Linked DNA regions of Homo sapiens: region 2 is linked to region 1. Evidence: promoter capture Hi-C in human tissues and cell types (Jung and others, 2019). All regions are on one chromosome and are shown on one strand. The core of a region is centred on a gene start or on the middle of the fragment in contact, and the rest is flanking DNA. Distances in the headings are between cores, read along the strand shown.

Region 1 (6,318 bases), core at 2,118-4,617:
TTGAGCTCTATCACTCCCATTTTACAAATAAGAAAACTGAGATAGGGCGTGAAGTCTGTAGCACAATGCCTGGCACAGAGTTTCAACCGAGGCTGGATTCTGAGCCCCATGGCTTCTCCGGCCAACTCCATGTAACCTGCATCTGTGCCCTGGACCAGCGTCCACTCTGGGTGCCCAGCTCTGCATGGTCCCCACTTTGCATTTCCAGGAGTTACCCCACACTTCCTGACTGTGCGAGAGCCCATAGCCCTGGGGCTCCCAACTGCTTCGTCTGCTCCCTGCTGCTGTGACCTGCACTTTTTTTTTTTAAATAATATTTGAGTTCTGGCCAGGACAACATAGTGAGATCTCATCTCTACTAAAAATAAACAAAATTAGCTGGGCATGGTGGCGTGCAACTGCAGTCCCAGCTACTCAGGAGGCTGAGGTTGGGGACTGCTTGAGCCTAGGAGGTCAAGGCTGCAGTGAGCTGAGATCTCACCACTACACTCTAGCCTGAGCGAGACCCTGTCTCCAAAAAATTAAGTAAATAAAATAATAATAATAATAATTAATTTAAAGCTATCAACCCATTTATTTTTATTTTTATTTTTATTTATTTATTTATTTTATTTATTTTTTTGAGACGGAGTCTCACTCTGTCACCCAGGCTGGAGTGCAGTGGCACCATCTTGGTTCACTGCAAGCTCCGCCTCCTGGGTCCTGAGCCATTCTTCTGCCTCAGCCTCCCGAGTAGCTGGGACCACAGGCACCCACCACCACGCCCGGCTAATTTTTTGTATTTTTAATAGAGACGGGATTTCACCATGTTAGCCAGAATGATCTCGATCTCCTGACCTCGTGAGCCGCCCGCCTCAGCCTCCCAAGGTGCTGGGATTACAGACGTGAACCACCACGCCCTGTTTTTATTTATTTTTTTTTTTGAGACAGAGTCTCACTCTGTTGTTCAAGCTGAAGTGCAGCGGCGCCATCTCGGCTCACACCAACCTCTGCCTCTGGGGCTTAAGCTATTCTTGTGCCTCAGCCTCCCCAGTAGCTGGGATTACAGGCACATGCCACTACACCCAGCTAATTTTTTTGTATTTTAGTAGAGACGGGGTTTCACCATGTTGCCCAGAGTGGTCACGAACTCCTGAGCTCAGGCAGTCCGCCTGCCTCGGCCTCCCAAAGTGCTGGGGTTACAGGCATGAGCCACCGCACCTGGCCACTATCAGCCCATTCTTAATCCTTGGGGATCTGGCCTGACCTGACCACTTCGTATCCTGGCCAGCAAGGTGACATACCACTCAAGCCTTGCTTCTATGAGAAACATCTCATATTTGCTAGATGCCAAGAACATGGCTCAGTGCAGGCTAAGAAGGAGAACCACAAAATAGTGTTGCTAAGGGGACTCTTGGAAATTACTGGCTTGTAATTGTGACCCATCGAGGTACCTCAGGGATAGGCAAGGGGGTCTCCACTTCCCCCTCTTCAACCAGAGTAGCCCCATATTAAAAACCTGTCTCTGTAGGTTTCCAAAGAAAGAGTTTTGCTACTTTTTAAAAAATGTTTGGGCTGGGTGTGGTGGCTCACACCTGTCATCCCAGTGCTTTGGGAGGCAGAAGCACGTGGATCACCTGAGGTCAGAAGTTTGAGACCAACCTGGCCAACATGGTGAAATCCCATCTCTACTAAAATACAAAACTTAGCCAGGCGTGGTGGTACGCACCTGTAATCCCAGCTACTCTGGAGGCTAAGGCAGGAGAATCATTTGAACCCGGGAGGTGGAGGTTGCAATGAGTCGAGATTATGCCACTGCACTCCAACCTGGGTGGCAAAGATAGGATCCCTCTCAAAAAAATAGTTTGAAAGTTGCTGTTCTATGTCAACTCTCAAGTTTCCAGGTAGAAACTGAGGCCCGGAGGGTAGAAGTTTTTTTTCTTTTTTTGAGACAGAGTCTCGCTCTGTCGCCCAGGCTGGAGTGCAGTGGCACGATCTCGGCTCACTGCAACCTCCACCTCCCGGGTTCAAGCAATTCTCCTGCCTCAGCCTCCTGAGTAGCTGGGATTACAGGTGCCCACTACCACACCCAGCTAATTTTTGTATTTTTAGTAGAGACGGGGTTTCACCATGTTGGTCAGGCTGGTCTCGAACCCCTGACCTCATGATCCACCCGCCTCAGCCTCCCAAAGTGCTGGGATTACAGGTGTGAGCCACTGCACCCAGCCAGGTAGAAGTAACTTCCTAAGGGTCACAGAGGTCATGATTGACAGGCTTGGGAGAGGCAGCAGGTCCCTAGACTCGAGGCTTGGAGCTCTTTCCACACCTCCACGACGGCCGCCTGGGAAACCAGAGCTTCTGCCTCCTGTGCTTTTATGTCATTCCTGAGGATTTCTTAGCTATAGGCTAGAGAAATCTGGAAACACAACAACTCTCCCAAGGTTTTCCATCTCTTCCCTCTCATTTCACACTTCTCTGAGGCAACTGCCAATGTCTGGCTGCCTTGACAGGTGACGACGGATGCCCCCAGGCTAGCTGTTGAAATCAGCCTGTGACCAAGCAGGTGTAAATCAAATAGTGCAGAATTCTGATAATTGGACGACAAGGGAGATAGGGAACAAATTCCCCACTAAGGAGAGAATAACGCTTATTCATAATGTTGTCTACCCAAAAGTGAAATAAAATTACACAGGGACAAAGCTAAATTATATGAACTTTTGAAAAGGCACATTTATCTTGGAGAATCAATAAACTCTTGGTGTTTCACTGTTATGAGTTCTCCAATTATTTTTAACACATATTTTTTCTTTTTTTAAAAAATATATATTTTGAGATAGAGTCGTGCTCTGTCACCCAGGCTGGAGTGCCATAGCGTGGTCTTGGCTCACTGCAACCTCCGCCTCCCAGGCTCAGGTGACACTCTTGCCTCAGCCACCTGAGTAGCTGGGACTATACCCATGTGCCAACATGCCCAGCTAATTTTTAATTTTTTTCTAGAGACAGGGTCTCATTATGTTGCCCAGGTTGGTCTCAAACTTCTGAGCTCAGGCAATCCACCCGCCTCAGCCTCCCAAAGTGCTAGGATGGCAGGTGTGAGCCACCGCGCCCAGCCGAGTTCTCCAATCACTATTATAGCAGTATATATTCTCTATATCCTCTTGGAATAATGTTACACCTTTGTACTATGTCCACTGTGCCAAAGATAAAAGGAGACTTTACCAGGAGTCTAAGTCTGCAAGGGGCCAAACCTCTTTCACCAACAGGGTTTGTCAGTGTGATATGATGCTAAAAACAGTCCTTTGGTTGACTTGTGGGTAATTGATTCTCTGACGCTGACAACGCTTAGGAAAATGAAGAGATAAATGATGGGAACGCCAGGCGGCTGCCAGAGCAAACACCCAGCCCAGGGCCCCTGGATTTGAGCAGTGCCTCGGAGCAGAGGGATATCTGCCGCATCAGGTGAGAGGGGTGGCCCTGGGGGGGCTAGGCTGGGTGGGGGTAAGAAAAGTTAACCTTCTCACCAACTTAGAAACACTGAGTCCAAGAGGCCCACCGCCATCCTCTTTGCCCATGGACTGGTGAGTACATTTGAGCCCCTCTCTGGATAAAATCACCCCTCAATAGGGGCTCTGGAATAGGCTTTTGATGGTGCTGTTTGGGGCTTGTCTTAACTTGGGCGCGTGGCGGACTGGCTCCAGGTGTCTGTCGCAGGTGGTGAGGTCTCAGTGCTCCTTCGAGGATGCGTGGGCAGGCTTCGGGGGCAAACGTGAGTTGGCTCGATTTTCCTGTCAGCGATGGGATTCTGCCATGGATCAGAGATGAGCCAAGTGGCTGTGCAAATCAATACTGCTCATTGATCACTCAGAACTGATTCAATGTAATTGCCGGGAAATTGATAACATTTTGCTTTCTTGCTCAATTGCAGCCACACTCTTTACTCCAGGTTTTAGACACAATTATCTGCCTTTGGAGTCCTCCGCTACCCCACGCCTGTCTCCTGATCCTTGCTTTAATGGTCCTGAAGTATTTGTGTCTTTCACCATAGACTGCCTCAAACCCCTTCTGGAAGGAGGTGGAGTGTCACTCTTTTGAATGACAGTTCAAGATGCTTCCTCATTAAAAACTTAGATTTCTTTTAACTTGGAATGCTGTCACTGAAACAGTTTATAAACCAGATCAGGAAGTCTATGCTTTGGGGTGCTCAAATTTCAAAGGGGGATATTCAAGGAAGGTTAAAGATGTTCTTTCCCTGGGTTTTCAAAAATGGCCTTGCGAATTTGGGTGCTTGAGACCTGACCTCTGTCAGCTGCAGGTGAATCTGCAGAATTCTCCTGGCATTCCTGGCATGAAAGCTGGCAAAAGGTGCCAACGGATGTAGATCAAGTGCCCGTTTATCCTGAATCCAGGCAATCTCAAGTACATCTAATCCCAGAATCAGTAAGCACTGCAGGAAGCTAACCGATGATCATAATGATAGATTATAAACTCTGGAGTGCCTTCAGTCATCAGGGTTGCCAGCAATGCTGTTGGGCTCGGCTACACTTCATTCAGTGAATTTTGACTCCTTAAGTTGTCATGTGGAATGTGTCTGTTGACAGCTATTTTATTTTATTCTTTGAGATGGGGTCTTGCTCTGACATTTAGGCTACTGTGCAGTGGCACTATCATGGATCACTGCAGCCTTAACCTCCCGGGCTCAAGCAATCCTCCCACATCAGCCTCCAGAGTAGCTGGGACTACAGGCATGCGCCACCATGCCTAGATAAGTTTTTTTTTGTTTTGTTTTGTGTGTTTTTTTTTTTGTAGAGATGGGGTCTCGCCATGTTGCTCAGGCTGGAGCTATTTTATCCTTAGTGACATAACCTCTATTCTTCTTATCTTACCCTACACTGGATAATTCTTGTTTCCCATTTTCATCCAGTGGGATCTGCAAACCCATGGATTCGGTTCTCATAGCTCAGAGGTTGCTGTGGGGTCTTGACCTATGCCTGGGGCACAGGATTTGTGGCAAATGTTGAGCCTCTTGGTTAACTTGTGCAGTTGCTGAGCCTTATCTTGAATGAGCGGGGTATTGTGTTTACTATGACTTGCCCTCCCCACCAAAGTCTGCCCTCCTATGAGGTTGTTTCAACTCCCTGAAACTACTGGGTGTGCATAGGGAGGGGCCAATCAAGCAGGTGTTCCTGTTTGTCCCTGTTCTTTCTTCCCCAGAGGCCCAACAACAAAGAGCAAGAAGCTTTCCTTTTTTTCAGACCCTTTCCCACGTGCAGGTGATGGAGGCTGAGGATCCCTGTGAATGGGGAATACTGTGAATAGAGCATTGTACCTGGGAGGCTGCTGCATGGAGCGGAAGGAAGTCTGCCGGCCTGGGAATGAGGAGGCCCACTCTGAAGTGCCCACTCCAAAACTAATTTGATGGAGGATCATGGAAAATGTCCTTGTCCTCTCTAGGCTCTTTTCCTTGGCTGTAAGAGGAGCATGGGGATGCCTGCTCCAGAGGGAGAGTGCAAGGATGGGTTGTGGAGCCTGATAGGGCACAGGGGCTGGGAATCACTTGTGCCAGCCCTTGGGAGAAGGGGCAGGCAGAGGGAGAGCTTAAGCCAAGAGAAGGGGTTTGAGCTTTATTCTGGAAGGAGTGGGGAGCCAAGGGCTTCTGAGCAGGGGAGGGAGGTGATTGGGGACCTAGATCTGCCTGAATCTTTAAAAGATCAGCAGCAAAGAAGGCAAGAAAGCCAGGCTGCAGCTGGGAGACAGAAAAGGCAGTGGTTTCTGTCAAGGGGCCCTGCTTGCATCCAGAGATCTCTCGGCTTAGGAAATTCCACTTCTGGAGAGGCAGCCTGGACCAGGTGGGGAGAAGGGGGACCAGACGTGGTATGGTGCGATGAGGAGGACGGAAGCCTGCCGAGCCTTGGTCTGAGGAACAAAAGCTTAAGTCAGACATGCGGAACATATCTAAAGGACCAGTCGTGTGGCTGTAGGTGCAGAGGCTCCAGCCCAGCAGGCGGATGTTACACAGCCAGCCCTCGGGGTAGATCCCGTGTTCTCATCTTTTCTCTAGCCCCAGTCCTTACCGGAACAGTAGAGGCTTAACAAACATTTGCAGGAGAAGGAGATTTGGGCTTGACATGGTGAGACAAACTTCCTAACAATAAGAACTGCCTGGGCCTGGCATTGTGGCTCATGCCTATAAGCTCAACTCTTTGGGAGGCTGAGGCGGGGGGATCACTTAAGCCCGGGGGTTTGAAACCAGCCTCGGCAATATAGTGAGACTTTATCTTTACAAAAAATTTCAAAATTAGCTGGGCATGATGGCACATGCCTGCTGTCCCAGCTACTCAG
Region 2 (6,781 bases), core at 3,795-6,294, 190 kb before region 1:
TTCATACGTTGAAATCCTAATCTGCAGGTGATGGTATTAGGAGGTGGGGCCCTTGGGGGATGATTAAGTCATGAGGACTCTACTCTTATGAATGGGATTAGTGCCGTTGTAAAAGGGGCCTGAGGAAAAAAACAAACAAGTCCATTAAAAAACGGGCAAAGGATATGAACAGATACTTCTTAAAAGAAGACATACATGTGGCCAACAAGCATATGAAAAAATGTTCCACATCACTGATCATTAGAGAAATGGAAATCAAAACCATGGTGCAATACCATCTCACACTGGGCAGAATGGCTATTATTAAAAAGTCAAAAAATAACAGATGCTGGTGAGGTTGCAGAGAAAAGTGAATGCTTATACACTGCTGGTGAGAATGTAAACTAGTTCAGCCACTGTGGAGAGCAGTTTGGAGATTTCTCAAAGAACTTATAATAGAACTAATATCTGACCTAGCAATCCCATTACTGGGTATATACCCAAAGGAATAAAATCATTCTATCATAAAGACACATACATGTTCATCATAGCACTATTCACAATAGCAAAGACCTGGAATCAACCTCAATGCCCATCAACAGTGGACTAGATAAAGAAAAATGTGGTAAATATACACCATGGAATACTATGCAGCCATAAAAAAGGACAATATCTTGTCCGTTGCAGCAACGTACATGGGGCTGGAGGCCATTATCCTAAGTGAATTAATGCATGAGCAGAAAACCAAATACTGCATTTTCTCACTTATAAGTGGGAGCTAAACATTGAGTACACATGGACACAAAGAAGGGAGCAATAACATAGAGGCCTACTTGAGGGTGGAGGGTGGGAAGAGGGTGATGATGGAAAAACTACCTATCAGGTACTATGCTTATTACCTGGGTAATAAAATAATCTGCACACTAATGCCCCGAGACATGCAATTTACCTATATACCAAATCTGCACATGTACCCCATGAATGTAAAATAAAAGTTGGAAAGAAAAATGAATGATTTTCTTAAAAAGTGGCCTGAGAGAGACTCCTCAGCCCTTGCACCATGTAAGGACACAGCTGAAAGGCACTGTCTATGGACCAGAGAGCCTTCATCAGACACCAGATCTGCTGGTGCTGTGACCTTGGACTTCCCAGCCTCCAGAACTTTGAGAAATAAATATTTGTTGCTTGTAAACCACCCAGTCTATGGTAATTTGTTATAGAAGCCTGAATAGAATAAGGCATTTAGAAAGAATTTTCTTGGTCCCAGAGTGAAGAAGGGATTGGAAGTCACAAGATTCACAGAACACTTCATACAGGTGGAGACTCTGAAGCTAGGTGTCTGTGCCACATAGCTGAGCCAGGGAGTTGTACTCTGGGCAGAGGAAGAAGCCTGTGCTGGGGCAAGGAGGCCAGACATTGTCTTATGTCAGAGGTGGTAGGTGTAGGTAGAGAATGAGATTCTGAGCATAACTGTGAATGGATGGTGAGCTGCTTAGGCCCTGAACAGGCCTTTCTACCCCTTCCCCATCCTAACCTCAGCCAGCACCAGCAGTTGCTCCAGGATGTGTTGGGCACCTACAGAAACGCTGCTCAACTTAAATCCCTGTGAGCCCCACAGTCAAGCCGAACTATCCCCACTGTGCACTGGGGATGCAGCAGTGAATAAACAGACAAAATTCTCTGCCCTCATCAAGCTTCCATGTTAATGGAAAAAAGACAGGTATAGAGCAGAAGGAGGTTAGGGGACGAAGACAGGCAATTAATTTTATAGACAGTAAATATATACATAGAGAGAAATACACAAGGTAATGGGGCATTACAAGTTGAGGTAGTTTCAATTCTAAGTAAAGTGATATCTTATCTCAGGCTGCTATAACAAAATACCATCTACTGGATGGTTTAAGCAATATTTATTTTTCGTCGTTCTGGAGGCTGGGAAGTCCAAGATCAAGGTGCCAGCGTATTTGGTGTCTGGTGAGGGCCCTGTTCCTAGTTTGCAGATGAAAGCTTTCTTGCTGTATCCTCACATGACACAGAGAGAGGGATCTGGTCCTCTCTTCCTCTTCTTTTAAGGGAACTAATCCCATCATGGAGGCTTAACCCTCATGACCTCATCAAAACCTAATCACTTCCCAAAGGCCCACTTCCAAATACCACTACACTGGGCATTAAGGCTTCAACACCTGACTTTTGGGAAAACGCAAACATTCAGTCCATAGCAGGTGGTTAGGGAAGGGTTCACTGAGAGGGTAACATGAGCACTTGTGAAGTGAGCAAGTTGGCCACGTGGATATCTGGGGGAAGCGTTCCAGGTAGAGGGAACCAAGTGCAAAGGCTCTAAGGTGGGATCATGACTCCCAATGTCTCTACTAACCAATAAAGAGCTTTATGAAAATTAGAAAAAAAAACTAGGCAAAACATTGGAAACAATTGTTTGCAGACATTGAACAACAGGCAGTAGCATAAGACAGTGATCCCTGAAGAAAGGTAAGCAAATCAAGTTAGCTCTACAGTTCACCCAGCTTTCTGTCTGGAGGCATCTTAGGTGCAGGGAGGGGAAATTCAAATAGAGTCCAGCAGTATTGCTGAGTTGATCTTTGAGACCAAGAACAAAGTTCAGGTAGGCTTAGGTGGCTGTAAGTTGAGGGGCAGAGTACCTGACTGAAGGAAGAAAAACAGCTCCAGAAATCTACATGTGTCCTCTTGAATCACTGCCATGTGCAAGGCTTCAGGTGTGTAGGGTGAAATTCCCTGAGGCCAGGCAAAGAAAGACTGAAGCATTTTAATTTGAACAATTCCTAGAAGTCACACAGGTTAGGAACTATCCCATAAGTGAAGGCTACTGTGGACCCACCCTAAAAGAGCTTAAAAATAAGCCTCAAAATGATCAAAGTAATTAGCAAGTAATTTAACTGCATGCCACTCTTTAACAGAAGACAACACAATTCCAGACCATCAATAGTGTAACATTTACAATGTCCAGCATCCAATCAAAAATTCCTAGACAGGCCAAGAACCAAAAATTGTAGCTCATAACTAGGAGAAAAATCAGTAAATAGAAACAGATCCCAAAATAACAGATAATGAAACAAGTAAGCAAGAATGCTAAAGGTCTTTTCTATCTATATATTTAAAAGAAATAGACAATCTTTCTTCTAAGCAGAGGCAACCCCAAACCAGGGCTCATGGCTTGGAGAACAGAACAAGGGCTGGGTTTTGTCCTCCACTGACATCCTCTGCCAGGTGCCCTCATGCCATGAACAACCATAGGTGACAGCCCTGGTGTCTGTCTGCTCAAGGAACACCAAGGAAGCCCATGTGGCTGGAGCAACATGAGCAAGGGGGAAAGGAGTGGGAGATGAAAGGAGAGAGGTAACAGGAAATAGACTGGGTAAGGCCTGTGGGCCATGGTGAGAATATTAACTTTTACTGTGAGTGACATGGAAGCTATGGGAGGATTTAAGCAAAGGTGATTCATGATTCTTCCAGAGGTTAATGGAGGATGAAGAGGGGGTGGGAGTGGAGGATGGACAACAAAGGAGGAAGCCTCTTCAGTTGTCCAAGCACAGGATGCTGGGGCCTGGCCAGAGAGAGGGGCTGAAGGGATTGGGGTTAGAAGGGTCTCAGAGTGGTCCCTTGGAAAGAGACTTGGCAGGAAGTGGGACAGATGTGCCGTGGGCAGCAGAAGGAGTTAGAGATGGCTCAGTCTCCCACTGCAGCCTGAGGCAGGCAGCGGGGCTCAGTGCTAATGCGAACTGGAAGAGAAACACATCTCAGGGTGTGAAGATGATGCAATGGGTTGGATTCTCCTGGGGAGGAATCTAGTGGCTTGCGAAGAAGAGAAAAAGGTGGGGAGTCTTGGTTGCAGGAGCAGTTAGGGAGATGTCAGCACAGAGGGCAGGGGATGAGTTCATCCGGGGAGTGTGTGAGGAGTGAGAGAAAGAGAAGGAAAGGAAGACAGACCAGACAGGAAGACCCTGCCCCAGAGTTAGCTGAGCATGCTACAGATGGCTGGATGGAGAGGCAAGCAGATGAAATGTCCATGAGAGTGACAGAGAGTGGAAGCCAACCCTGACCATGCCTCAGAAAGAGATGACCCACTTACACGTACACACAAGTACACACACACACAGCAGGAATGATGCGTGGACAGAGCAAATTCCATAAGTTTCCTCTGGAGAGCAGAAGGAAGTGCAGCTGAGGAGGATGAAGGCAGGGGTGGGAGAAGGGGGCTCGGAGAGACAGGCCCACAGACAGGCAGAGACCCAGGGGCAGTACACAGAGGGGGCACACACACTGACTCACGTATGGGAGCTGTCCAGCTCCTGGAAGATGCTCAATGTCCAAAGTGGGTGGATGAATGGATGGCAGAGCAAGTGGATGCACAGGGGTGAGAAGTCACCAAGTGAATGAGAATCAGAAGGAGAAAAGGCTCCAAGTAAAGAGGAACCCACAGATGTGACCCAGGGTGAGACACACAAACACAGTTGTGTTGCAACATGGGGACCAAATCTAGAGGGAATATGGAATAATGAGAGAGAATGGGAAAAGGAAGGAGAGAGATTCAGAGAGGCAAAGAGGCAGATGTGTGCACACACAGACAGACAGACAAGCAGGCACACGGCAGCCTGATCACACACTGGGGACCCTAGAGTGAGACACAGAAAGAGGCCATGCACAGAAGCTGCTACCACCTCACCAAAAGAGCAGGGACACCAACATGCTCATCGGCAGGAGGAAGCCAGCTCGGCCATTGTGCATCTGATAAAAGAATGTGATGCACCTAAACTCTGACATGGAAGCAGACCCAAGACACATTGCTGAATGAGGAAGGCCACTGCCAAATCACATGCACAGTGTGTAGTATTTATGTTCAAACAACAATAACCAAACCAACAATAATAGAACAAGTTTTCTCTTCTTTCCTTCCTTCCTTCCTTCCTTTTTCCTTCCTATCAATCATCTAGCTAGCTAGCTACCAGTATAATTCACATCAGTCTAATAACTGAGGATCCATGTGGGAAAATAAGTAGAAATCAGGATTTGGGAGGAGGTTTCAAAGGAGACTTTAGTCCTTCCTTCCTGAAATTTTAGTGTTTTTTTTCAACTTGAAGTTCCTCCAGCTTCAGACATTCCTCAGCCTTCCTCTGTGCTGACACTCAGAGAGAACTCAGATGCAGGCTCTCAAGATGCCCGTGGTCTGGCGGGAAAGATCCCCCCAAACACATGCATGTGCCTGGCTGTTCCCAGGGGTGTGATCCTGTGATGCTATGGGGGCTTTCAGGGGAGAGGCCCTGGGACTTCATCAGGGAGGATGAAGTGCCTGAGCCAAGAGAAGCCTTGCTGTGTGCCAGGCAGACAGGTGAGAGGCGTTCCTGCCAAGGGCAGCTTGAGCAAAGGCCAGAAGGTGGGGAGAGGGTGAGTCTTTCTGCACTGCAAGAGGTTCCTTGTGACTGGAGACAGGGCAGAAGGATAAGTCACCAAGAGTGTGAGGGTTTGGCCTTGCCCAGAGCCTTAAAGCAGGAAAAATTGGCTTGAAGTTTATCAGGAGGGTGGGGAGGTGGGGAAGCTGGCTTAGTGGGGTTAGGCCAGTGAAGGGTGAGCTGCCAAGTGGGAGATTTAGAAAGGTGGCTTGGGTGGCCTCACCAAGTGTAGACAGGAAGGGGCAAGGCTGGAGATGGGAAACCCGGGAGGCCCTGGGAGCTGACACCCAGATGGGATGGTGGTGGTGTGCTGGAGGCACAGCCCTATGGTGGGACTGGATGTGGTCAGAAGGAGTCAAGAAAGTGCCTGAGACTTGGTCTACTTGTGCTGAGGATGGGGAGCTGGGCAGGTGAGGAGGTTGGAGAAAAGAAGAGCAGTGTGGGAAGGGCAGGGAAGTGTCTAGTCCTGTGTTCAGGTACATGGATGTGCAAGTCCCAGTTCAGGAGAGAGCTCTATGTCCAAGAAGGACAATGGGTGGCCACAGATGTCCTGGGGGTGGAGGAAGCTGCCCTTGGGGAACGGGCAGGGCAGGAAGCGGTGGAGGACTGAGCTCTGGGAAGCATCAGTATTGAGAGGTGGATGGAAGAGAGAAACTGCCCAATGGGTGGGAGAAAAGCCAGGAGCACCCAGTGTCCTGAAGGAGGAGACAGTGGCCTCCCAAGCAAGGATGGGCACCCCAATCAGGACCCCAATGGGCCAGGAGAAATGAGGAGGAAAAAGGGACCATGGGCTTTGGCAAGAAGGAGGTCTATGGAGAGCTCTCTTGAGAACCATGGTGGGCTCAATGTGGCTGAGGTCCCTTGCCAAGGATGGGGTATGCGTGGGCTGGGAATGGAAGCAAGTAAAGCCAAGGGTCCCTTTCCCAGATTTTCTGCAGATGGACAGAGAGAGAAGACAGAGCATGGGAGGAACAGGTCACCAGAACACATCTCTCATGCTGGAAAGCAGACTCAGAAGGAGGGAAGAGGATGGCTGTCACCAGGGCAACCATGCTGGCCATGGGATGAAAGGAGCAAAGGAGGAGATGGGAGATTTGGGAGAAAGAGTCAGCACAAGTTTAAAGGAAGGAGGTGGGGAGAAGGGGAAGCCTGGATTTCTGTCCCTGGAGATGGAGGATGAGAGCATAAGATGAAGCCTGGAGAGGAGGGAGGTTGTTTGGAGCCTGGGGAGTGTATGATGCTGGGAGTATGACTGAGTGGGGCTGAGGACAGGACAGTGAGTATACAGGTCTGGGAGAGGGGAGATGAGCACAGAAATGCAGAGGAGTTTGTGTGCAGGGACCTCTGAAGCCCTGGTGTGGATAGTATGGCCCATGGAA

The links. The method cuts DNA at HindIII sites, captures the fragments that hold promoters and counts their contacts. A contact is called where the count stands out against the background at its distance.
Region 2: a fragment that was not itself captured here is called in contact with the fragment with the promoter of GHRH in region 1 in 2 of the 25 tissues and cell types used here (IMR-90 fibroblasts and lymphoblastoid cells).

The regions. Positions count from the first base shown.
Region 1 is chr20:37,258,863-37,265,180 of GRCh38, reverse strand. It overlaps GHRH (growth hormone releasing hormone), which reads left to right and starts at 3,367. Exons shown (of 5, transcript NM_021081.6): 1 at 3,367-3,438. RefSeq lists a silencer at 1-35. The HindIII fragment of the contact is 8,848 bases long and covers 1-5,561 here.
Region 2 is chr20:37,450,998-37,457,778 of GRCh38, reverse strand. No RefSeq gene overlaps it. Among named protein-coding and RNA genes, the nearest start is that of NNAT, 67 kb to the left of the region's middle. The HindIII fragment of the contact is 6,428 bases long and covers 1,831-6,781 here.